Regions from separate parts of the Homo sapiens genome. Here region 2 is linked to region 1. Evidence: promoter capture Hi-C in 16 types of primary human blood cells and fetal thymus (Javierre and others, 2016). All regions are on one chromosome and are shown on one strand. The core of a region is centred on a gene start or on the middle of the fragment in contact, and the rest is flanking DNA. Distances in the headings are between cores, read along the strand shown.

Region 1 (4,747 bases), core at 1,761-4,260:
TTCCAGCAATCCTATCATAGGTTATGAGAGCGTATAAAGAGGAAGAGAGGAGGAGAGAATCCAAGATACAGACCAGATTCAAACACAAGTTCAACACAGCCTCAAACAAGGGATCCACACTTTCACCCATTGACTCAGCTTTGCCCCATCTTTCAACTACTCACCTACACCCATGCCCTGTCAACCTGGGTCTCCTTCTGACATGTGTTCAAATGATGTAGCACCTGAATGTCATGAGGCTCTCTGTGCAAGACCATGAAATATAGATACTACATCTTTTTAACAATTAAACGTGCTCTTTCTTCTGCCAGTAAGGTTCCTGTCCCTGTCCCATCCTACAATCCTTTTGAAAAGCCACTTCCTCTGATGGCCAGTGATGATGAGCATTTTTTCATGTGTCTTTTGGCTGCATAAATGTCTTCTTTTGAGAAGTGTCTGTTCATATCCTTTGCCCACTTTTTGATGGGGTTTTTTTTTTTCTTGTAAATTTGTTTGAGTTCATTGTAGATTCTGGATATTAGCCCTTTGTCAGATGAGTAGATTGCAAAAATTTTCTCCCATTCTGTAGGTCGCCTGTTCACTCTGATGGTAGTTTCTTTTGCTGTGCACAAGCTCTTTAGTTTAATTAGATCCATCAGAGAAATGCAAATCAAAACCACAATGAGATACCATCTCACACCAATTAGAATGGCGATCATTAAAAAGTCAGGAAACAACAGGTGCTGGAGAGGATGTGGAGAAATGGGAACACTTTTACACTGTTGGTGGGACTGTAAACTAGTTCAACCATTGTGGAAGTCAGTGTGGCGATTCCTCAGGGATCTAGAACTAGAAATACCATTTGACCCAGTCATCCCATTACTGGGTATATACCCAAAGGATTATAAATCATACTGCTATCAAGACACATGCACACGTACGTTTACTGTGGCACTATTCACAATAGCAAAGACTTGGAACCAACCCAAATGTCCAACAATGATAGACTGGATTAAGACAATGTGGCACATATACACCATGGAATACTATGCAGCCATAAAAAACGATGAGTTCATGTCCTTTGTAGGGACATGGATGAAGCTGGAAACCATCATTCTCAGCAAACTATCGCAAGGACAAAAAACCAAACACCGCATGTTCTCACTCATAGGTGGGAACTGAACAATGAGAACACATGGACACAGGAAGGGGAACATCACACACCGGGGCCTGTTGTCGGGTCGGGGGGAGGGGGGAGGGACAGCATTAGGAGATATACCTAAGGTTAAATGACGAGTTAATGGGTGCAGGACACCAACATGGCACATGTATACATATGTAACAAAGGGGCACGTTGTGCACATGTACCCTAAAACTTAAAGTATGATTAAAAAAAAAAGAAAAGAAAAGCCACTTCCTCAGGGGAGCCTTCTTTGAGCTCCCAGATTAGATCCAAGGTCTGTTAAACACCCTCAGGCACCATGTACCTCTCCTTTGGAAAACTCGTGCTTGAAACTGTATGTATGTGATTTTACTGACCAATATCTGCCTGCCCCACTCGACTGTTTGTAAACCCCACAATGGCAGAGGCTTTTTGACATTTTTATTCATCACTTTATCTCTACCGTAGCAAATAATAGCCTCTAGTAATACTTAATGAATTCGGAAATAAATAACTCTATGCTAACTAAGTATCATCTTCCTAGCTGTGACTAGCAAGTACAGGTATAGGTATCAAAGTTTAAAAACAGGCCAGGTGTGGTGGCTCATACCTATACTCCCAGCCCTTTGAGAAGACAAGGTGGGAAGATTGCTTGAGACTGGGAGTTCGAGGGCAGCCTGGACAACATAGTGAGATTCCATCTCTACAAAAAGTAAAAAAAAAAAAAAAAACATAGCTGGGCATGGTGTTGTGCACCTACAATCTCAGCTACTTGGGAGGCTGAGGTGGGAGGACAGCTTAAGCCCAGAAGTTCAAGGCTGCAGTGAGCTATGATAGTGCCACTGCACTTCAGCCTGGGCAACAGAGCAAGACCCTGTCGTTTAAAAAAAAAAATGAGGACAAAAATTGGAAGTTGAAGATATTTTGGCCATTAATTTAATCGTTTATTTAACCTGGGAGAAAAACTGCCACTGTTTTATTTTAGAGCAATGCTTCCACATGGCAACACGTTCAATTGCGTTTTTCCCAAACCATGTTACTTTCCAAACGATTACAAGTAGTCGCGAAGGGTGGTCACACTTTACAAAAAGTGTAATTAAATTATAGAGTCGGCTACATCTCAGTCACTGGCCCATTCCTGGTCAACTGACAAGTAGCTGTGGTGGCTTCTAGTAGCTTGTTACAAGTCATCAAGTCAGTATGAGTGTTGGGGGATGGAAGCTATTGAAAACGGTGCTGACGGCCCAAGGAGTAGCAAACTGTCTCATGAACCGTCCTGAGCCGACTCAGTAAGGACTCAATAGAGAAGGACACTTCATTTACTTCCCTGACAACTGCAATAAAGAGGTTTTAGAGCTCGCTGAGGGATGCTGCCTGGGCAAGGGAAATAAATGTGTTGTAACATGAAACGGTCCCAATCAAGCAAGTCGGGGCCCTCTCGCTGTCGCCGACAGTCCAGAGCAAGGAAGTACACAGCAGTCCTGAACCTCAGTTTTCTGCAAACCAGAGGCTTGCCACTGAGCCTATGTGACCCGAAAGCTGCAGAAAGGAGAGGCTGTGCCCGGCACACGGAGGCCGCCTCGCCAGCCTGTGCTCCCGACCCTGCGCCTGCCGCCCCGGACTCACCTGGCCCGGGGCCCTGCGGGTCCTTCAGCTGAGCCTTGAACCGCACGCCCGTGAGCTCTTCTTTGCGGGCGCGCTTGGCTGCACCCGCGGAGGAAGCCGCGCCGTCCTGGCCGCCCGAGGCCTTCCTCTTGGGGACCCCCATGGCCGAGAGGGCGGAAGCGCGACGGAAACGACACACCTGAGGGGACCCGGCAGGAGCACTGGCACAGACAGCAGACACGCGCTTCAGGCCCACATGGCGCAGGAAGAGGCGGGGCTGGCGGAAGAGGCGGGGCTGGCGGAAGAGGCGGGGCTCGGGGAAAGGCCGGCGGAAGGGGCCGACCCGCGCGAGGCTGGGACCGGCGGAAGGGGCGTGGCCTGCAGAAGGGGCGGGGCGATAGGGATCCAGAGTCTTGGGGATCCAGAGTCTTGGGGCTCCATGTGAGTTTGCTGTACCGGTTGTCCCGGTCACGGCATGGGGCGAGCGGACACTCCACGACACCCCCCGCCCCCGGCTGCAGGGTTTGGGGTCCACCGGGGCGCATTTCTGATCCCAGTGGCTCTTCGGGTGCTCTTGGCCGGAAGAACTCCCAGACCTTTCACTCCTGGCCTGGCCGATCCACGAAGACTCGGGCCCCGGCGCGTCCAAGCAGCACAATGAGTAGTTCTTGACCCGAGGTCGCCCTGAAGGTGTCGCATGAAGAGCTTGCTTCACACACAACAGGATTCGATACTTTGCCAATTCAAGGCCCTGGTGGCTGGCCGGGAAGGTGGATTCGCCTTGGCTAGGTGCCAGGCAGGTCCGCCTGTGCGGGTGCCCCTGACTTCGACCCCTAGCTTATGTCACAGCCCGAACCAGATCGACTGGTCTGGTAGCAGCCTGTCACTCCAGACTGTCCTCCACCCCAGACTTCCGCAAACTGATGGGCTCTTTGCGCCGTGCAGGGTGGGAGGAGAAGACCAAACGAAGTAACGTCTGTAAAACCCCTTCCTGGACAGCGTAAGGCCTCCACATCTAAGTTCCTGTCATTAAAATGGAGACAGCAAAGCCGACCCTATCCAGTCCTTGGGACTGTTATGAACAGAAAATGATGCAATGTATGAAAAACTGCTTTGAGGAGAAAAACAACACAGTGTGTTTTTGGAAGATGTGATTGATTTGTAAACCGCATTAAATGCTCTGAAATAAAATGAAAGTAAAAATAAGTAAAAACAGGCTGGTACATATTTTAATACGACTTCATCGATACTTAGGTATGTGTCCAAATAAATCATGAACCAGCGCATTAGATAAGTAACTTGGTGATTACTGAAATTCTCCATCAGGTTGTCCTCTAGTCTAAGAAAATTGTGTTTCATATTCTGTAAGCAGATGTGTTTTGAACATCTGAGGATGTGGGCTTTTGTGGCCTGTTGGGGTCTCAGAGTTTCTAGTAGAAAAAGCACGTGTGTTGACGCTGAGCCTCTGTCCCGACAAGATGATTGTGCCTGTGGAGATGTCTATGTTGTAGGCAGGTCAGAGAGAGGGTGTCACCCCTAGCAGATATGAGCTAATGCAGCAATGTTAAGAGAGGGGAATATGCTCAAAAAGTCATCTGTAAAAGGCAACACTCATTAGTGAATACAGACTTAATTCTGACTGATTATCCACACTGGTCCTCTTCTTTGGTTAATCGCTAACCACCAACTTTGTTTTCTGCCATGGTGGTCCCAACCAAAAAGTTATCAGAAAGAGTTAGGAAACAGTCAAAAGCCCTGAGTTCAGTTTCTGCCTGTGTGACCTTGGGCAAATTACCATCCCTCTGTGCTGGTTTGCTTTACAAACAATTAAAGAGCATGAGGAACTTCCCAGGATTATCCAGCTAGTAACTGGTGGAGCCAGGACTCACCCAGTGTATCCTAGTCCCAAATTAAAAACAAAGAAACAGAAGTTGGCAGTGCCCATTTACAGCCTTAGCCAGAGATGTATGGATGGCAAGTGTGGCTCAGAAGTGCATTTGG
Region 2 (5,290 bases), core at 2,609-5,108, 1.1 Mb after region 1:
AGGCACAGTGGCTCATGCCTGTAAACCCAAGACTTTGGGAGGCCTAGGTGGGTGGATCCCCTGAGATCGGGAGTTCAAGACCAGCCTGACAAAAGCCCGTCTCTACTAAGAATACAAAATTAGCCGAGGTGGTGGCGCATGTCTGTAATCCCAGCTACTCAGGAGGCTGAGGCAGGAGAATTGCTTGAACCTGGGAGATGGAGGTTGCAGTGAGCCAAGATCACGCCATTGCACTCCAGCTTGGGCAACAAGAGCAAAACTCCGTCTCAAAAAATAATAAAAGAATATATGGAATCTTAGAAATGCATTTAATTCAAATAGATTTAGCTACTGCTTTTAAATTATAAAATCTTTTAAGTTATAACATCAGGCGTGGTGGCTCACACCTGTAATCCCTGCACTTTGGGAAGCCGAGGCCAGCGGATCACGAGGTCAGGAGATTGAGACCATCCTGGCTAAAACGATGAAACCCCGTCTCTACTAAAAACACAAAAAATTAGCTGGGCGTGGTGGAGGGTGCCTGTAGTCCCAGCTTCTCGGGAGGCTGAGGCAGGAGAATGGTGTGAACCCGGGAGGTGGAGCTTGCAGTGAGCCGAGATCGCACCACTGCACTCCAGCCTGGGCGACAGAGTGAGACTCCATCTCAAAAAAAAAAAAAAAAAAACAACTTTAAGTTTAAAAAGATTCCTTGTGAAATAAAATTATATCAAAGTACAATCATCTGTTTATATTATCTACTTGAAACTTACCCTAGAACGACAAAAAGATTTTCATAAAGCAAAGCTTTTAATGGCTAAAACCCAGAAACAGTCAAAATGTCCATCAATAAGGAACCAAAAAATGTATATTAGGGTACATCCAAACAACGGTATACCATGCAACATTCTGAAAATGAGGCAAGTTGGCTGGGCAGGATGGCTCACACCTGTAATCCCAGCACTTTGAGAGGCTGAGGCAGGTGGATGGCTTGAGTTCAGGAATTCAAGACCAGCCTGGGCAATATGAGAAACCCGTCTCTACAAAAATTACAAAAATTAGGCATGGTGGCACTCGCCTATAGTCTCAGCTTCTCAGGAGGCTGAGGTGGGAGGATCGTTTGAGCCCAAGGCTGCAGCAAGCCGTGAGGGAACCACTGCACTCCAGCCTGGGCAACACAGTGAGACCCGGTCTCCAAAGTGAGGGGTGGGGTTGGGAGGAAATGAGGTAGGTCTCCACGTGCTTATGAAGGAAATGTGTCCTTATATTATCATCAGTTGCCGAGCAATATTATAATATAATACCCTCCTAGGGAATGGAATTGAGGATGTAAAGAGTGAACAAACAAGGAATTCTAACTTGACATACCTCTGCGCTGTCTGAATTTTACTTGATATTCTTCTGTCATGTTTAAATGTTTTAAACAACCTGAATGTTACTTTAATCATTTAAAAAGTAAAACGGGCTAGGTACGGTGGCTCACGTCTGTAATCCCAGCACTTTGGGAGGCCGAGGCGGGGGGGGGTTACCTGAGGTCAGGAGTTCGAGTCTCTACTAAAAATACAAAAATTAGCTGGGCGTGGCGGCGGGCGCCTGTAATCCCAGTTTACTTGGGAGGCTGAGACAGGAGAATCGTTTAAACCTGGGAGGCGGAGGTTGCAGTGAGCCACGATAGCGCCATTGCACTCCAGCCTGGGCAACAAGAGCAAAACTCGGCCTCAAAAATTATATATATATATACATAAGTTAAAAATAAACTTTAGGCCGGGCACAGTGGCTCACGCCTGTAATCCCAGCACTTTGGGAGGCTGAGGCAGGTGGATCACGAGGTCAGGAGATCGAGACCATCCTGGCTAACACGGTGAAAACCCGTCTTTACTAAAAATACAAAAAATTAGCCGGGCGTGGTGGTGGGCGCCTGTAGTCCCAACTACTAGGGAGGCTGAGGCAGGAGAATGGCGTGAACCCAGGACGTGGAGCTTGCAGTGAGCCGAGATCTTGCCACTGCACTCCAGCCTGGGAGACAGAGCAAGACTCTGTCTCAAAAAATAAATAAATAAATAAATTTAAAAATAATAATAATACACTTTAAAAGGCCAGGCGCGGTGCCCACACCTGTAATCCCAGTACTTTCAGAGACCGAGGCAAGCGGATCACTTGAGGTCAGGAGTTCAAGACCAGCCTGGCCAACATGGTGAAACTCTCTCTCTACTAAGAATATAAAAATTAGCCAGGCATGGTGGCAGGCGCCTGTGATCCCAGCTACTCGGGAGGCTGAGGCTGTAAAATCCCTTTAACCCTAGAGGTGCAGGCTGCAGTGAGCAGAGATCGGGCCACTGTACTTGTAGCCTGGTCAACGAGGGAGACTCTGTCTCAAAAAAAACAGAAAAGGAAAATGAGGATAAAATACGATAAATTCTTTACCTTGGCCCCCAGAAGTGAATTCAGAATTCAGAAAAGACTAGCCAGTGTAAGGCTGCTGTAACCCTAGTTGACAGAGAGGAGGGATTGGGGTGGTGAGTGGGAAGGCTGTGTCTCCGGAAGAAGAAATATACGTCCCCACCTCACTCTAATTAAACCTGCTTTTCCAGCGCGATAAATATTCAAGATAACTTTTGGTTTGCATTTCAATAACAAAGTCTTGCACCACTATCTTCAGTTTAAAAAAAAAGTTTAATGTTTGCTCTACGTTTGAAATGCATGCAGGTTTAAAAGACAAGAAACAAAATGATGAAAAAGTGTGACCGGCCTGAGAGTTCAGAGCCTCTGAAGTGTCAAGGGATCCACAGTGCAGGTAGGATGAAGAGTCTGAGAAGGGAGATGGGATCCTCCGAAAAGAGAAAATCGGGTCTTACAGCGCGATGTAAGACGATGCGGATGCCACTTCCCTCCCACCCCGTCCCGTCCGAGGCCTCCGCCCCCTGCCCCTCCGCACCCCCCGACCCAGGCACGCGCAGCGGGGAGCAGCCCAGCCTAGCCCGTCTCACTGCTTTGGTTTTGAAAGGTCACGTATTTACCTTAGAATTTCAGCACCTTCCAACTTACTGTTTTAAGTACCTTTAACCAGCCTATTGGCTAAAAACCGAAACGGTCCTACCCGCGACTACCACTGCTCCAGTGACAATGCTCTGCTGCTACTTATTTAACGGAGCTCAAGGTTTATAATTCTCGAAAGAATGTTGTTCCCCTTCCCTTTCCCCTCCCGCCTCTGTACTTGACTCTCGTAAGAATGAAATCAGAAAAGTGCAGAAAACACAGGCTCCTAGCAATGGTTCGGGGCAAACGGGAGGGGCGAAGAAGGGCTGGAGCCGCCCCGGGGCCCTCGCTCCGGCCTCGGGAGGGCGTCGCGGCCGCAGCAGGGCGTCCCGAAAACCGTCGCCTCCGTGCCCGCCGCGCGAGAAGGTGAAAGGCACGAGATGGAGCCTCTCCAGCCCTCCCCAGGAACGCAACCTGACGGCGTGACAGCGCGGCAGGGCAGCCTCCCCGGGCTGCTTGCGGGTCGCGGCGGCGCCACGGTCACGGTCGGCCCGAAGGGACGCGGGCAGGGGCAAGAAGGGGCGGCGGGGGCTCCGCGGGCCCGAGTCTGCAGGCCGGCGCCGAACGCAGGGAAAACCCGGCTGGACGGCCCCACAGCCCCCAGAAGGCCGGGCCGGACAGGGCCCGACGAGGGAGCCTCCTTACGCGCGGGCGGCGGGCGCGAGCCCTCTACGGTTGCCTGGCGCCGGAGACCCACAGACAGGACTCACCCAGCTTCCTCAAACGCCCACGCCGACTTCAGGCGCGCGCGCAGGAAGGAGACTGCTGCGCCACAACCCTGCCGGCGTCCCGCGGCTCCACCTCAGCCCCGGGAGCCCGGAGCTGGGAGCAGACGCGAGGATAGAGCGCCGGTGAGGCGGGGCGAGGCGCCGTGTGCACCGCAGCGACCAATCGGAGCGCAGCAAGTGGCCGGCCGGGGGCGGGGCGGGACGCGAGGGGGCGGGGAGAGGGCGTTGGCTGGGCGCAGCGGGACGCCGGGCGCTCCTCGCGACCAATCGGCGTGCAGCAAGTGGCCGGCCGGGGGCAGGGCGAGCTCCGAGGGACGGGGTGGGCTGCTCTGCAGGCCTCCCGGAGCCGGAGTTCAGACCCAGCTATCTACGGTTCCGGGCAGAGCGGGACGGGCCTCTCCTGTCCCCTGCCGGTGGGCGGCCGCCGCCGGGCTCCCACTGCTGCGTTTCTGCACGCTGACTTGAAGTGCAGTACCGTGAGATTACGTGCGGACGGAGCTCGAGACCCGGGGGACCAGGGTTTCCCTTCGCCTATGGCCGATCAGTCTTGTCTGTCTGCGAGCTGCCCAGAGTAGGGAAGGTGCTCCGGGAGGGTTCTCGGGAACGGAGGGTCTTTAGAGATGCCTTTTTCTAATCCCCTCAATTCAGAAATGGAGCCCCAGAAAGTTGAAGTTAGTAAACCAGGGCTACCCAGCGAGTGCTGGTTACCCGAGGTGATCCTCACAATACAACTAGTCTTCTGATTTCGCTCGGCGCTCTCCCGTCTATTCACGTAGATTTTTGTCTTTTTTTTTTTTTTTCGTCTTTCTTATAGTCAGATATCTTTCAGCCTCTTGGATTTTCAACATAACTTTAACAGCGTTTGGAAGCCCCGTCTAAATTTCCTACAGAAATGCCTATAACCATTTAGTTGTTTGGGGGAAAGTCGAGCTTTGTTTTTTGGGTGGTTTGTTTGTTTGTTTTGAGACAGGGTCTTGCTCTGTTGTCCAGGGTGGAGTGCAGTGGTGTGATCTTGGCTCACTGCAGCCTCTTACCTCCCACGCTCAATCAATCCTCCCACCTCAGCCTTCCGAGTAGCTGGGATTACAGGTGCGCACCACCATGCTTGGCTAATTTGTGTATTTTTAGTAGAGACGGGATTTCACCTGGCTGATCCTGAACTCCTGACCTCAGGTGATCCACCCGCCTCTGCCTCCCAAAATGCTGGGATTACAAGCGTGGGCCACTGTGCCCAGCCAAGTAGAGTTATTATCAGTGGAAATCTAAAAAGCATTTTACTTGAGGCATAATGAAGTAAAAGGTTTTGTATCATGGAATTATCACCAAAAATGCCATCCTGGATAATGTTCTCCTATAGCTCTTATACATGGGCTAGGATCTAGGTGTTCAATAAATATGTGCTGAATAATTTACTTTTGAAATATGTCACAATGCTGGCATTCCACCAGAAGAGAGGATACAGAAGGGAACACTCTCCTCTCTTTAAGAACCTTTTGAAAGGGGCGGGGGTTGCATGTACCATTTTTGTTTTCATTCTGCTAGTAAAATAG

What was found. The method cuts DNA at HindIII sites, captures the fragments that hold promoters and counts their contacts. A CHiCAGO score of 5 or more calls a contact.
Region 2: the fragment with the promoter of TMEM50B here is called in contact with the fragment with the promoter of URB1 in region 1 in 9 of 17 cell types (naive CD8 T cells, non-activated CD4 T cells, total CD8 T cells and 6 more); the score reaches 15.9 in naive CD8 T cells.

Annotation. Positions count from the first base shown.
Region 1 is chr21:32,390,002-32,394,748 of GRCh38, forward strand. URB1 (URB1 ribosome biogenesis factor) reads right to left here and starts at 3,011. Exons shown (of 39, transcript NM_014825.3): 1 at 2,768-3,011. The coding sequence starts at 2,909. It overlaps URB1-AS1 (URB1 antisense RNA 1 (head to head)), which reads left to right and starts at 3,132. Exons shown (of 1, transcript NR_026845.1): 1 at 3,132-3,959. RefSeq lists enhancers at 2,277-3,059, 2,919-3,213, 3,060-3,841, 3,364-3,613. The HindIII fragment of the contact is 11,778 bases long and covers 1-4,747 here.
Region 2 is chr21:33,476,116-33,481,405 of GRCh38, forward strand. TMEM50B (transmembrane protein 50B) reads right to left here and starts at 3,859. Exons shown (of 7, transcript NM_006134.7): 1 at 3,723-3,859. The HindIII fragment of the contact is 5,416 bases long and covers 782-5,290 here.